5 separate regions of the Homo sapiens genome follow, and all the other regions are linked to region 5. The links are contacts of gene promoters, found by promoter capture Hi-C in blood cells and fetal thymus (Javierre and others, 2016). All regions are on one chromosome and are shown on one strand. Each heading gives the region's core, a stretch centred on a gene start or on the middle of the fragment in contact. The rest is flanking DNA. Distances are from core to core; before and after follow the strand shown.

Region 1 (2,803 bases), core at 81-2,580, 3.1 Mb before region 5:
ATGTGCTCAAATAACATAATGAAACGCAAAATGAACACAGGACTAGAAACTGTGAGCTCTGGATTTTAGTCTCGCTCTGGTATTGATCTCCATGGTGTTTTGGGGCCTTGAATATTTCCTTACCTGTGAGATGGTGAGGTTAGGTCTGCCTTCCTGTCCCAGGGAAAAGGCAAAGGCAGTGTCCATCTCTAGCCTATTCCTTCTTGGTTGTATGATCATGAGAAGTCATTTCATCACACTGGAGCTCAAGTCCTCATTTTTAATGTGGGGGGAGTAAAAGCTTGTCCCACGGAGTGTGAGGATGATCTAAAACAGCTGCAGGAGAGTACAGAGCATGCTACCTGGAAGAGAGTCAGCCTCTAACAAATGCTCATTCTTTGTCCCACACTCCCATGGCTCTGTTTTTTCTTGGAAGGGGTGAATGGAATCAAGGATGGTAATACATATGAAATCTCGTTAAAATAGGAAGTGCCCTCCATAAATGCCAGGGGAATCCCATGTAGATTTCTACATAGGAGAGTCTGGGGGGGCTCTTAAGGCTGATCTCTGGGAGGATCTGTGCCTCTCCTAGTGTCCTGTCTTTCTTCTGGTTCTAAGTCTCTGGACAGGCCTTCCCCAGGAGGGCTCCTTGGTCAAAGGAACTCCTTTCCCAGAAGCATGCAGAAGGTGACAGGCACAAACACAAAGACAGACTGTCCTTGGCTTTCTGGAGCAGAGATAGCTTCAGACATTCTGCCTCACTCTTATGGGGACCTGTCAGCCCAGTTCTTGGGTCAGAAAATGGGTTCATGGTAGGTTAACCTAAGCCACAACCAGTAACGACTACTTTTCTCTAATGGTTCATCAAAGCCTTTTGACCCTTCCTTCTCCATTGCTCTACCATCCACCTCCACTGTTCCAGCCTTCCTGCAGCTCCCACGTACTGCATGCCTTCGTCACTTCCTGCTTTGCCTCTGGCGCTAGCGTCCGACTGTTCTTCCCTTCTTCCAGTCCACCTTTCTCACCACAACTAAAAGAACGTTTCTGCTTTGATCACATGATTGCCGTGGAAGTGAAACATGCAGAGAACCCCAAGGGGTGAGGAGGCTGCAGCCCTTTATTTGGCTGGACTTTGTCTTGAGAGCTTCTCTGCCCTTGCTTTGCTTTGTTTATATAGAAACAGGTATTTCGTTATAATTCCTTTTTTTTTCTGCAGAAAGATTAAGTGCAAACACTTGGCATTCAAGGCAACCCCTCAGGGAATCCAGCTTTTCCAGCTTTCTATGACAAACTCCTTCAAGTACATTGTAGTGATTAAGGGCATGGACTTTCAATCCTGACTATGTTCAAGTCTTACCTCTGCTGCCTATCAGCTATGTGATCTTGGGCAAGTTACTTAACCTCTCTATGCTTTGACTTCCTTATCCATACTTTGGGAATAATAATACTCCATACCTCACAGGGTTATTGTGAGGGTTAAATGAGATTATCTATATAAAGTTCTTAGAACTTTGCTTAGCACAGTAAGTACTCAATAAGTTCTATCCATTCCAGAAACCTCCACCCTAGCTAAATTCATCTCTGTTAACAGCCGCACATGTGCTTTTGACTTTCCTGCCTCTGTGATTTCAGCTGCTCCTTTCACCTGCCTGCAATGATCCCTCTCTTTCCTTTTGGCTTTATCCAAGCTCTCCTTGTCCTCTATTGCTAAGGAAACTCAAGCAATTTCTCAGGACCTCTATGGCTAAGGAAACTCAGGTAATTGTTCAGGAGAACGAGACAGAACTCACCCTGGTTCCTACAGCTGAGTTACTGTGGGAGGTCACCTGGCTTCTCCACATTTCAGCCTTCCCCTTGGTGAAGTGCAGATACTTAACACAGACCTTGTGAAGTCATTGAAAGAAAAATTCTCAAATTCTGGCAGATAGTAGGTATTTAATGAATGATAGATATTATTAAGCCAAGCTAGTCCTTCCTACCTGAACTTTTCCCTCTGAACTCTTCTAGTAATTATTGATTCCATCATTTATCTGGTCATTCATTGACCATGTAGTACTTTGTATCACCTCATCTTTTCTTTCTTTTTGTCCTGCTTGGAATGATTACTGTAATCTTATGACTGCTTAGTTTTTTAAACATGCATAGTATCCTCCTCACTGCATTGGGGTTTCCTGGCGGGAAGACCCTGCACAGACATTTGTAACGTGACCAGAGTTTTAATGTGCAATCCCTCCATGCTAGCAGCTTGGTGAGGTGCTTACATTTTGTAGGACTTCATAGGCTTTTTGCTGTGGTATGTCGGCCTGGTACAGCCCAGGGCTTTGAGGCTGCAGCTCTCTCTTAAGTGTTTATTTTTTGCACCTTTGCCTTTGGGCGATGGACTCCCCCACCTAAAGCTTTGGACTTTTCCTGGCTGCCTCATTGACCAGTTGTGAGGCTGACACCAGCCTGTGAGTCCAGAGCTGGGTCAGAGCAGATAAGGGCTTGTTCTCAGAACCAGCATGGTGATCACTGTGTGTCTTCTCCTTATTTTCTTCTCTGTGAAAACATGTGCCTCGTAATTTGTGTTCTGAGAAATATCTCAACGGTCCTGTGCCCTAAACATTTCCTCATCTGAGATAAGGCCTGGATGTTGGCTCTAAGGAGGGAAAAAGGTACAGTGGAGAGGAAGTTCTGATCAGCAGGAAGATTTCCCAAGCAACGACACCGCCTCTGGCAGCAATGGCCTAGAAACTGGGCTGCCTTGGTGCAGACCGAGACCAAGGCCATTCCCAAAGGAGAGGCTGACAGCATTGCCCAGGCATCCTCTTCCCTGCCAGGCATG
Region 2 (2,700 bases), core at 31-2,530, 3.2 Mb before region 5:
AAATTGAGCTGTTAGAAAGAAAAGAACGCATGAGTGTGTCTTTGATTTGAATACAGGTAGTCAGTTCATTACCTGAGGTTCCAGGGAGGATAAATCTTGCCTTTAATCTATACCAGCTTTATTGTCAGGGAACAGGACAGGGACGTGCTGCCATTATTCACCATCACTTATTTGAGGACACTTATTTAGCCTGTACTCCAACAGATAGTCTAATAAGATACTTGATGGAGAGAGGGCATGTGTGAATGTGAATGTGGAAAATGGTGGCCCCATGGTCTTCCTCTTGAGCTTTCTCAGGCTAGCAGAGGACAGGAGCAATCACAACAGCTCAAGTTAGAAAGGGGCTGAAGGGTTAACTTGTTCAACTGGCCTTGTATTCTCAAATTCCTTTTATGATATTGCTTCAGGAGCACTTCAAGAAAACCTCCAAGTAGAGCTTGAGATCTTAGTCCCTCTGTGCCACCTTGCAATGCCTTTTTCTTCTCATGAGAAGCTGGGCTCCTCAAACTATGCCCTTTGTTAATTGTTATTTCTTTGAATACTTCAAGGCCCTGTATTCCTTCTATAGGTAGCTCCCTCCCACCCCAGTAAGGGAGGAGGATTATGTGAATTCTAATAACATTTTTTTCCATAATTTCCAATAGTTCCTTTTTGGATAATTATGCTATCTAACGCTTTTTCGCTAAAAAGTATCATTTTTTTGAAGAATTCTACTTCTGTTTCTGTGTGTGAACATATATAGTTTTCTATACAAAATTAGGAACCAGCTTGTCATTAAGTGAGTTGTTACTCATTGTTTATTGGATGCATACAAGATACCAGGAATACAGGAGGGAATAAGACAGAAAACCTGCCTTCCAGGAGTTTGTATTTTAATAAGCTGTCATCTCAGACAAGGTGAAAGAAGATTGTATTATCTATTGCAAACAAATTGTTATTGTATTATCTATTGTGTTATCAATATAATCTATTGATAAACAAATAGATTGTATTATCTATTGCATAACAAATCACCCCCAAAACGTAATGGCTTAAAATAATAAACATTTAACTTATATTTTCCTCTTTCTGCTGGTTAAGAATTTGGGAATGGCCTACCTGGCTGGTTCTGGCTTAGGGTCTTACATGTGACTGCAGTTGGATGTTGGCAAGGGCTATAGTCACCTGAAAGCTTAATTGAGGCTGGAGGATCTGTTTTGAAGATGGCTGTCTTGCATGGCTGTAGGCAGGAGGCCTTAGTTCCTAACCATGTGGTCTCTCCATAGATGGCTTGAGTGCCCTCTCAACATGGAGGCTGGATTTCTCCAGAGTGAGTGATTGCCTCAGGATACAGCAAGCCTGGCTTTCCCCAGAGGCCATGATTGCTTTAGGATGCAAAAGCAAGCTTTTGTGCCCACATATTAATTAATTAGTTAATTCAACAAGTATTTATTGAACACTTACTATTTGCTAGAAGTTCCAGCATTAAAACATACCTCATTCTTTCCTCACTGAGAGTCTGGAAAAAGTAAAAATACTTTCAGCTTAGTTAAAAATTGGAAGGGCTAGAGTAGTAGTATTTTCTAGAGTAATTCATAGAGAAATAAACCATTTAACCAAGGTAGGGGTGCAATCCAATCACTTGCAAATAAACAGTGCAACTGCCCTTGATTCAAGTGTGCTCTGGGTCTCTTTTTATTTTGGAAATCCTTGTGCTTTTGTAATGGCTGCCTAGGAACCAGGGCTTTGCTCAGTTCATGCCAGGAGTGTTTGAGCAGAGTTGATCAATGGCATTAAAATTCACTAGGTTTCCCAAGCAGTAAAAAACTGCTAGATGCGGCCAGGCGCGGTGGCTCATGCCTGTAATCCCAGCACTTTTGGAGGCCGAGGCGGGTGGATCATGAGGTCAGGAGTTCGAGACCAATCTGACCAGGATGTTGAAACCCTGTCTCTACTAAAAATACAAAAAAAAAAAAAAAAAAAAGGAGAAGAAAAAATAGCCAGGCGTGGTGGCACATGCCTGTAATCCCAGCTACTCAGGAGGCTGAGGCATGAGAATAGCTTGAACCCGGGAGGCAGAGGTTGCAGTGAGCCGAGATCATGCCACTGCACTCCAGCTTGGGCGACAGAGAGAGACTCCATCTCAAAAAACAAAAACAGAAACAAAAAAACTGCTAGATGCTGAGCCCGGATGGCCACCTAGCAGTGCAGAGGGTGAGTGTCAAGGTCAGAAGACCCTGGGACGGGTAGAATTTTTCTAGGTTGGGAGGAAGGATGTGCATGCACGATGGTAGTTTTACTCATGGTTGGCTAACAGTGGCATGATTCACATCTAAGAATAGATAACATTTGTTTGAAAATGTTTTTGGTGTTTGCTTTCAGTGGTGCTTACACTGAAATGGGAATGGCACAGAAAAATAGAATGTGGTGAGTACCTCCCTCTTGTTTGTGAACATTCTACAGTTTTATGATTAGAATCTATCAATTTTAGAACTCTGGTGCGTAGATAATTCAAATCAGCTTAATTCTCAAAATTTTCGCTGGCCCCAAACAAAAACATATGACTAGAATCCTTTTTAAATATGTGTTTTGAAAAAAGTTAAATCCATCTGTATGCAAGACTATGCTATATGTAAGACTCTGGGTTAACATATGTTGAAGTGAGAAAGACATTGTTTGGCATTTACCATTCATTCATTCATTTATTCAATAAATATTAAA
Region 3 (2,515 bases), core at 16-2,515, 3.4 Mb before region 5:
TTTCAATGCTGGATGAGCTTCTAGCCCTTCCCAGGGGATTCTCAGGCCTCTGTCCCCTGTCCTCTTCCCCTTTCTTCGTTAAATATCCATGGAGTCCTCATCCCTAAGGCAACACTGGAGTCCCTGACTATGGTGGAAATGTTTGGAGCTGTTTTCTAAAGGATTCAGTGTTCATTCATCCTGTGAAAAGGAAGAGAGAAACAGTTGATAGAACTCCCTGAATGTTCAATTGAGGAGCGAGACTGGATACAGAGGCAGCAAAAACTATACTCTAGGTGCTGAAGCATATTGAAAGATGTCTTTGAGTGAAGGCTGGCAGCAAAATATAGAGTCTTCTCTAAGGACAATTGGGCAATAACAAATCAGGATCTAAAAAATTTTCAGATCCTTTGACCCAGTAATTACAATCCAGGGAGCTTACGCTGAGGTCAGAGTTTTTTTAAAGGGAAAAACAAAGAAAACAAAATGTCTCTAACAAAAGTTAACAGTCAATAATGACATAGTGCTTTGGAGCTTTGAAAGTATTTTCTTATACAGTCTTCATGAGAGCTTCCCAACATTTCCGAGAAGTAGATTGTCTTATCTCCATTTCACAGATAGGAAGCAAAGATCAAGTGAGTGGGTCTAGTTCACTCTGGCAGATTTAGGACCTGAGCTGCAGCTCATGGATGGCTACCCAGTGGGTTTGGTCAGAAACTCAAGGTACAGCTGGGTGCAGTGGCTCCCAGCACCTTGGGAGGCCAAGGTGGGCAGATCCACCTGAGGTCAGGAGTTTAACACCAGTCTGGCCAACATGGTGAAACCCTGTCTCTATTAAAAATGCAAAAATTAGCCAGGTGTGGTGGCTCATGCCTGTAATCTCAGCTACTCACTCAGGAGGCTGAGGCAGGAAAGTCGCTTGAACTCGGGAGGCGGAGGCTGCAGTGAGTGGAGATTGTGTCACAGCCCTCCAGCCTGGGGCGACAGAGCAAGACTCTGTCTCAAATAGATAAATAAATAAAAATACAAAAAAAAGAAACTCAAGGTACAGTGGTGGGAGTCAAAAAAGCATAAGGAGAAAACCAAGACTGAAAACTGTTATTGAGCTTAGTCTGTGCCTAGTTCAGTCCCTAGCATTTTACAAGTTTTCTCTGAGTTAACAAACTTGTGGGGGAAACTGAGGCTTTCAGATGTTGAATAACTTGTGTAAGTTGTAGAGCAGGTTTCAGAGCCTAAGTTACATCCAGAGCATAGACATGGTTTCAGCTCTGCTGTGTTGCCCTCTGCATTCACAGGAATGCTTTGTAGAAGGAGTGAATACATGAACACATGAATGAACAAATGGATTAGGGAGTTAGGACATGAAAACCAGCTTCTGTGGAAACTTGGACCTCAGGCTCCCCATGGATGACAGGTTCTTTTCCATAGTTCCGCATTTTTTACCTGCAATACAGCAATGCGGTTGCCCAGGCCCCTCCCAGGAGAGTTGCAGCTTCCCCGGAGGCCACACTTCTCCAACACCTTTTGCCTAAAGGCTCTTTTTCCCTAAAGGCTCAACTCATCCCTTGCAAAATACCCAAAGCCAAATGAGTCTAGAGGGTAAACCAGCCATGTAGGATGTGGACCTTTAGCAACTGAAGGAAACTGAGGTATTTCAGTATGATGAAATACTCTGTAGTCATTAAAATGATAGATGTGAGTGTGTAGAAATATGAAAAAGTATTGGGAAAGAGTTGCACATATCTGAAGAAACCAATGAAAGCAATGTGCATTTATTTATTTATTTTTGTTTTTGTTTTTTTTTTTGAGACAGAGTCTTACTGCGTTGCCCAGGCTGGAGTGCAATGGTGGGATATTGGCTCACTGCGACCTCTGCCTCCTGGGCTCAAGTGATTCTCCTGCCTTAGCCTTCAGAATAGCTGGGAATACAAGCGTGTGCCACCATGTCTGGCTAATTTTTGTATTTTTAGTAGAGACGGGGTTTCACCATGTTGGCCAGGCTGGTCTCGAACTCCTGGACTCAAGTGATCCACCTGCATCGGCCTCTCACACTGCTGGGATTACAGACGTGAGCCACCGCGCCCGGCAAAGCAAGTGCATTTACATGGATAAAGATTGGAAGATAAGAGGAATGAAAACTGTGTAAAAGTATTGATATCACGTGGTGTCACCATCCAGTTTGTCTGCTAAGCCAGGAGCCTCTGGGTCATCCCGACAACCCCAGTCTCCTCTTCCCCCAGATTGAACTTGCAGATTCTGCATCAGGTAGCATCTTAATTCCGGTGCCTGTTCTTCATCCTCGCTGCCAGTTTCCTTGAGCAGGCTCTCCTTATCCCTCTCCTGGACCCCACAGCAGCCTCTTAACTGCTTTGCTGGCCCTCTGTTCTCCCTACCACTGTAGTCCATATTGGACCCTGTGGTCAGAGTGATCCTGATATAAAACATACCTGATTATGTGTCTCCCTTGGTTAGAAGCGTCTCTTTACTTGTTGTTGCCTTCAGAAGGCAAGTTCAAATTTCTTAGTATGGTGTATGA
Region 4 (2,793 bases), core at 186-2,685, 3.8 Mb before region 5:
CTGCACTCCAGCCTGGGGTGACAGAGAAAGACTCTGTCTCAAAAAAAAAAAAAAAAAAAAAAGGAATCTAGCATAGTACCTGTTTAGAATGCAAATAGTGGTATTAGTAGCTAATGTTTATTGATCACTTACTATATACCAGGCACTGTGCTAAGCATTTGCACAGATTATCTCATTTCAATCTTACCACAACCTTGAGAGAGAGGGCTTATCATCATCTTCCTTTTAACAATAAAGTAATTTAAATTAAATAACTTGCCTAAGGTAACAAATCCTGTTAAATGGCAGCACTGAGATTGAACCCCAGGTAATCTGAATCCAGATCGCACACTCTTAGCCCCTAGAAAGGTTATAAAGCTGCTTAATAACTGTTTGTGGATTAGAACTGAACTGACTGGTTCCCTCCTAATACCTCTGTACCCAGGGGAAAATGTTGTCAGAGACTCAGGAGGCAATGATCTCATCTCTGAAAATGACCAAGGGAGGAGGAACTGTGTCAATCACAATAGGCAACTGGACTTGAGAAAAGGAGAAATTTGACCTACACTCTGCATGTGCTGGGAAGCTTCTCTGGGTAAAGGGTGGGTGGCTTAGAAAAACAGTACAACTAGGTGAGTACTGTGGGGCACAGTCCTCTTGCCCCAAATTAGGAGTGTCAGTTAAGTGATGGTGTGCCAAACTTTATACTGTTACAATTTTTAAATAGTAGGCAATTGTGCATAGGCATTCCTTGATTCTGTGATGCAAAGACAACATAATCTGTTGTAGACGGGAGTTTCTGAAGGTCTTTAATCCTATCCTTGAAATATAACTGGGAAAGGTGGAGTGGGAAACCCTTGGGAACCAGGATACTTGGCATTTGGCTCAGTTCCCACAAATCTGTCAGGGAACACTGGGCAAGTCACCTAACTGCTTGGGAATCAGTTTCCTTATCCAAAAAATGAAAAGTTTGGAAAGCATGTTATCCTTAAAATTCTCGCTGGCTCTTATGGCTTATAGTGATGTAAAATAATGACAGCGACTCTAAAAACCGGGATCACTTCTGTGGATCTTACTCTCTTCTGGATCTCTCCATTTCTCCTCTCTCAATTCCTCTCATACCCTTCCCCCTATAAATGTTTGTTCATTCATTCATTCAGTCTTCCTTCTATTCAGTAAGTATCTCTTAAACACTTGGCACTTTGGGGCCATAATAGCAAATAGAAACCCTCCCTGGTCTTAGGTAGGTCACAGTCTAGTTGGATAAATATAAATATTTGGAAAATGGTACCCTGGAAAATGATACCATTGAAAAGGGCCATAAAAGAGGAACGTTCTCATTCTTGATATAGCACAGAAGTTGGGCATCATTAAAGGTGATGAACTCAACTTAAATTCATCAAAGAAACCTGGGTGTATTGTAAGTTTTTCTCATTTTTCAGGTTAATGTGACTTTATCAGAAATAAGCAAGATTTTAAATCCCTCGTTCCTATAGATCGCAAGTTTTTAGGACTCCCATAAAACACCATGATTTTTTTCTTCATTGGAGGTTGTTTTACTTGTATTAGAAATGATGTAGCTCATAAAAGGGAGCCAGTTCAATTCAAAACACATTTATGGGGGCCCACAAGGGACCCCAACTAGGCAGTGCTTTCCTAGAGAAGAAAAAGCCTACAGGGTTTGGATTCAGACTGACTGAATAGCATTTTTCCACTTATTAACTGTTAACCTTGAGCAAATTGTGCTTATCTCTGAGTTCTCTTGCAGAAAACACACTACCTCACTAGGTTACTAGGAAGATTTCAGGAGATGGTGCTTGTAAAAGGCCAAGCCTGGGGCTCCAGGAATCTTCTGTCCTTGCTTTAGTTGCTGGGGGATGTAGGTGATACAGACATGGGTAGGATTTAGTCCCTGAATGCTGTCAGGGATTGATAGTCTGGGACTTTGCGGTATAGGATACTCACTTGGAAGATACAAGGTGTTTGTTTGTTTGGCATTTGTTTTTTGTGTTTTATTTTATTTATTTATTTTTTGAGACTGGATTGCTCTGTTGTCCAGGCTGGAGTGCTGAGGTGCAGTGGTGCAATCATAGCTCACGGCAGCCTCAAACTCCTGAGCCCAAGTGAGAGATGAGTCAGAGCCAAGCCCTTCTGCTAACAGAGCTATTTGTTGCTGAGGAAGTTCTCAGTTTCTCCTCTGAATGGTGCCAATATCCTCCAGTTGCTTAAGGCAGAGTGAGAGAAGCTGACTGTGGATACCCACATGAAGATTAATCCCACCTGGAGGAATGGGGCAAGGAGCTGCTCTCTAGACCAGTCAAGCTTGCATTTGAATTGGGCTTGTAATGAGTTCCCCAGAAGGAAAACACACGCACATATACCCCAACAGAAAAAGCATCCTGGGGCTGTGGACTCATCCATTGTCTTTGATAAGCCAACAGAGCATGGTGGCTGATCACATGGGCTATGAAATCAGATTGCTTGAGTCCTGCTCCACTACTTGACAGGTAACCTCTAAGCTTCAGGTTTCCCATGCATATAACATGGGGAATAATACAGTACCTGCTTTATATTGTTGCTGCAAGTATTAAGTGAGGTTGCGCCTGCAATGACTCAGGATAATACAGGGCGCATAATACTAAGCACAATTATTCTTTCATAGGACTAAACAGAAATACATCCCTGAGTTCATTCAGTTGATATTTATGCTACATTTCTTCTAGGTTCCCACCATTCTGCCTCTTTTCTTCCTACTTCCATCAGAGGAACAGGGAGGTAGAACCAGAGTAGTTTTTTGTCTCCAAACAAACCATG
Region 5 (2,783 bases), core at 165-2,664:
TTGTCTATAATATGGTGATCATATGATGGCAACAAATATCACTCAGGTAACAGCAGCCCCCCACACCATTTGCTATCAAAAGGACTGGGGTGTGTTGGATTCATTCAGTCACATGCGCCTGAGGCCAGCCAGTCTGAAATTATTGAAACAGAATCGCACAGCACACAGTAGTCTCATGTTGATCTAACTTATACTTCAGACTTGCTGAAGGACTAATTTCTATCACAGCCCTGCCAATATTGATTGTTTGGACTCAAAATTACATAAGTAGAATGATTTTTATTTTTTTCTCCTAAACTAGAAAGGATCACAGTAGTGCTAGTATATTCCTGTTTCCACTGGCTGGTTATACATGCTGGAAAAAATTAGTCAAAAGAAAGCAACTGAAGACAGAATATAGGTCTTGAATCGCATTCTTAAGTCCCCTACGAATAAGTCTGGGTGCTTGCAGTAGTGCCTAAACTTGTTTATTGTAAACAGAGCTGTTAATCCTCCACCCTCACCGGACCCATTATTTTAAAAAAATAAACAACAACAACAACAAAAAAAACACTTTGGTAGCCTACATTTAGGTAAAAGAAACGAAACCAGTGGAGAGGTGGAAGTGTCCTTTTGTGGTGGAGGTTAGTAGGCATTACTGGTCTCCTGTCACTTCCCTAAGTCAACAGGAAGGAAATATATCCACTAGGGCCTCTGCTAATTTGTTTCTAATTTAAGGACAATTAGAATTAGGATGTAGGAATTAGGCAATTCCTACATCCCCTAACCCCCCACCCCCCCAAAAAAAAGCAGTCAGAGCTGCACGCTTCTCTCACTATCCAACGAACTGGTACCTCTCTGGAAATAACGGAGGTTATGAACTTTGTACTAACTTCCAGGGGTATCTAATAAACAGAGCGGTGGTCTTGGGACCCAGTCAGTGAATAAGTCTTCGTTCTGTTTTATACTGTTTCTTTTCTGCGATTTTCTTTTCTACCCCAAAGTTTCCCACTACTAACTCTGAAAACACCTCTAGGATGACGCACTCTTCGAGCTGTCCTGGTGAAGAATCCTTTCTTGTGACCTTTAGGGCAAGAAATATGTTCCAGGAAAGAAAAGAAACGACTGTTCCTCCTTCTCCAGGTACTCTGGGAAAAAACAGGTCAAAGGGAAAAGGCGCAAACACCAAACTCTCCTTCCCTTTCTCATTTCCACACTGGCAAGTTGTGTTTGCCTTCTAACTTGTCTCGGAAGGCAAGCAGAGCTCACAGCACCAGCCCCAGGCGGCGGGTGGATTATTTACAGGGGGATTTAAACCCGCTCCGGCGCGGGGGCGTGGCCGGGCGGAGTCCCGAGGCCCGAGTGGGCGGGGCGGGGGCGGGGCTCCCGGCCGCTCGGCGCAATGTGAAAAAGACCCGAGCTCGGGGAGTGAGCGCCTGTCTCTTTAAATGCCACGGGCTGCGCTCCCGCCCGGGAGCCCGGAGCCGGATCTACAATCCCGTCCCTCCAGCTCCGGTGCTTGTTGCTCGCCCGGCCCAAGCGGGAGCTGTTGCCGCCAGGCTGCGAGGCTGCCGTCCTCTCCTCCTCGCGCCCCACCTCCCCCGAGAGCTGGCTGAGGAGGGGCAGCAGCCCCAGCTGGCGGGAGGAAGCGCGGTGTGAACAGGGATTGCCCCCCGCCTTCAAGTATCGGGGCGCTACGCAGCCGCGGGGGAAAGACATGCCCCTAGTCTGCCCGCTGCGCTGCCCTCTGCCCAGCCTCGCTGCCGCCCGCGCCGGGAGAGGAGGGACTGCCGAGCCTACACCTTCAAACTCGCCCTAGAAGTCTCGGGGCGCGGCAGGGAGCCCTTCCCCAGGCCCCACGGCCTTCACCTCTCCGCGGGTGAGTTTGTGCAGGTAACCCGAGCCTGAGGGCGGGCGCGGGGGAAGGGCGGGCGAGCCGGGAGGAGGTAGCGCTGCAGGTGAGCCAGGTAGGGTGACTCACCTGTCCAGGTCGCGCTCTGAGATCCTCGCTTGTTCCTCTGGGGATGGATGCGTTGGTGGGGAGGAGGCGTCCCCGGGGCTAGTTAGGGCCCGAGGGTGGGAGGGGAAGTTAGCAGAGGAGGGGGGGGATTGGCGTAAAGTTTCTCTTTCCTTCCCTCTTCCTGCCCAAGCTTGGCAGGTAGGGCGCAGGCGGAAGCAGTAGAAGCTGCTGATGCAATGGGCTTTTGCCAGGGCCAGGCGAAGGGCTGGGGACAGGGAGAACAGGAGTTGCCCAGTCTCCTGTGACCGTGACCTTACAGGTGGAGAAACGAGGGAAAGCTCGCTACACCCGAGACTTCCCCCTAAAATGGCTCCAGGTGCTGAGCCCCCACCGATTCTTTTTCGGAACAAAACGCCCTTTTCACGGAGGGGCTCCTGCATGGCTTTCTTGCCTTCCTCTCCCAACAGGTAGCCTCAGCCCCTGTCCGGGGACCTGTGCAAATGACCCTGGAGTTGGTTTCGCTTTCTCCCCTTGCGGCGGTGTGAACGTGTGTCCGCAGCGTGATGGGCAACCAGGTGGAGAAATTGACCCACCTAAGTTACAAGGAAGTTCCCACGGCCGACCCGACTGGCGTGGACCGGGACGACGGGCCCCGCATTGGGGTCTCCTACATTTTCTCCAATGACGATGAGGACGTGGAGCCGCAGCCGCCGCCTCAGGGGCCAGATGGCGGCGGCTTGCCCGACGGTGGGGACGGGCCGCCGCCGCCCCAGCCGCAGCCCTACGATCCGCGGCTGCACGAGGTGGAATGCTCCGTGTTCTACCGGGACGAATGCATCTACCA

Evidence for each region. Contacts are between HindIII fragments. The CHiCAGO score rates a contact against its expected background, and 5 or more counts as called.
Region 1: a fragment that was not itself captured here is called in contact with the fragment with the promoter of LRATD2 in region 5 in 1 of 17 cell types (total CD4 T cells); the score reaches 7.6 in total CD4 T cells.
Region 2: a fragment that was not itself captured here is called in contact with the fragment with the promoter of LRATD2 in region 5 in 2 of 17 cell types (total CD4 T cells and fetal thymus); the score reaches 9.5 in total CD4 T cells.
Region 3: a contact is called between a fragment that was not itself captured here and the fragment with the promoter of LRATD2 in region 5, in 1 of 17 cell types (fetal thymus). The highest score is 6.3, in fetal thymus.
Region 4: a contact is called between a fragment that was not itself captured here and the fragment with the promoter of LRATD2 in region 5, in 1 of 17 cell types (fetal thymus). The highest score is 6.5, in fetal thymus.

Annotation. Positions count from the first base shown.
Region 1 is chr8:129,689,299-129,692,101 of GRCh38, reverse strand. No RefSeq gene overlaps it. Among named protein-coding and RNA genes, the nearest start is that of CCDC26, 10 kb to the right of the region's middle. RefSeq lists enhancers at 1-677, 1,530-2,803 and a cis regulatory region at 2,408-2,742. The HindIII fragment of the contact is 2,095 bases long and covers 283-2,377 here.
Region 2 is chr8:129,722,683-129,725,382 of GRCh38, reverse strand. It overlaps a transcript of GSDMC not described here. Among named protein-coding and RNA genes, the nearest start is that of CCDC26, 44 kb to the right of the region's middle. The HindIII fragment of the contact is 213 bases long and covers 1,174-1,386 here.
Region 3 is chr8:129,944,053-129,946,567 of GRCh38, reverse strand. All of the region lies in intron 2 of CYRIB (CYFIP related Rac1 interactor B), which reads left to right. Among named protein-coding and RNA genes, the nearest start is that of MIR5194, 63 kb to the left of the region's middle. RefSeq lists an enhancer at 720-1,220. The HindIII fragment of the contact is 5,391 bases long and covers 1-2,515 here.
Region 4 is chr8:130,364,156-130,366,948 of GRCh38, reverse strand. The region is part of intron 2 of ASAP1 (ArfGAP with SH3 domain, ankyrin repeat and PH domain 1); the gene reads left to right. Among named protein-coding and RNA genes, the nearest start is that of ASAP1-IT1, 69 kb to the right of the region's middle. The HindIII fragment of the contact is 1,736 bases long and covers 568-2,303 here.
Region 5 is chr8:126,557,109-126,559,891 of GRCh38, reverse strand. It overlaps LRATD2 (LRAT domain containing 2), which reads left to right and starts at 1,414. Exons shown (of 2, transcript NM_174911.5): 1 at 1,414-1,858; 2 at 2,407-2,783. The coding sequence starts at 2,503. It overlaps LOC105375751 (a long non-coding RNA gene), which reads right to left and starts at 2,016. Exons shown (of 6, transcript NR_188069.1): 1 at 1,961-2,016. RefSeq lists a silencer at 1,282-1,461 and an enhancer at 1,176-2,012. The HindIII fragment of the contact is 2,746 bases long and covers 1-2,131 here.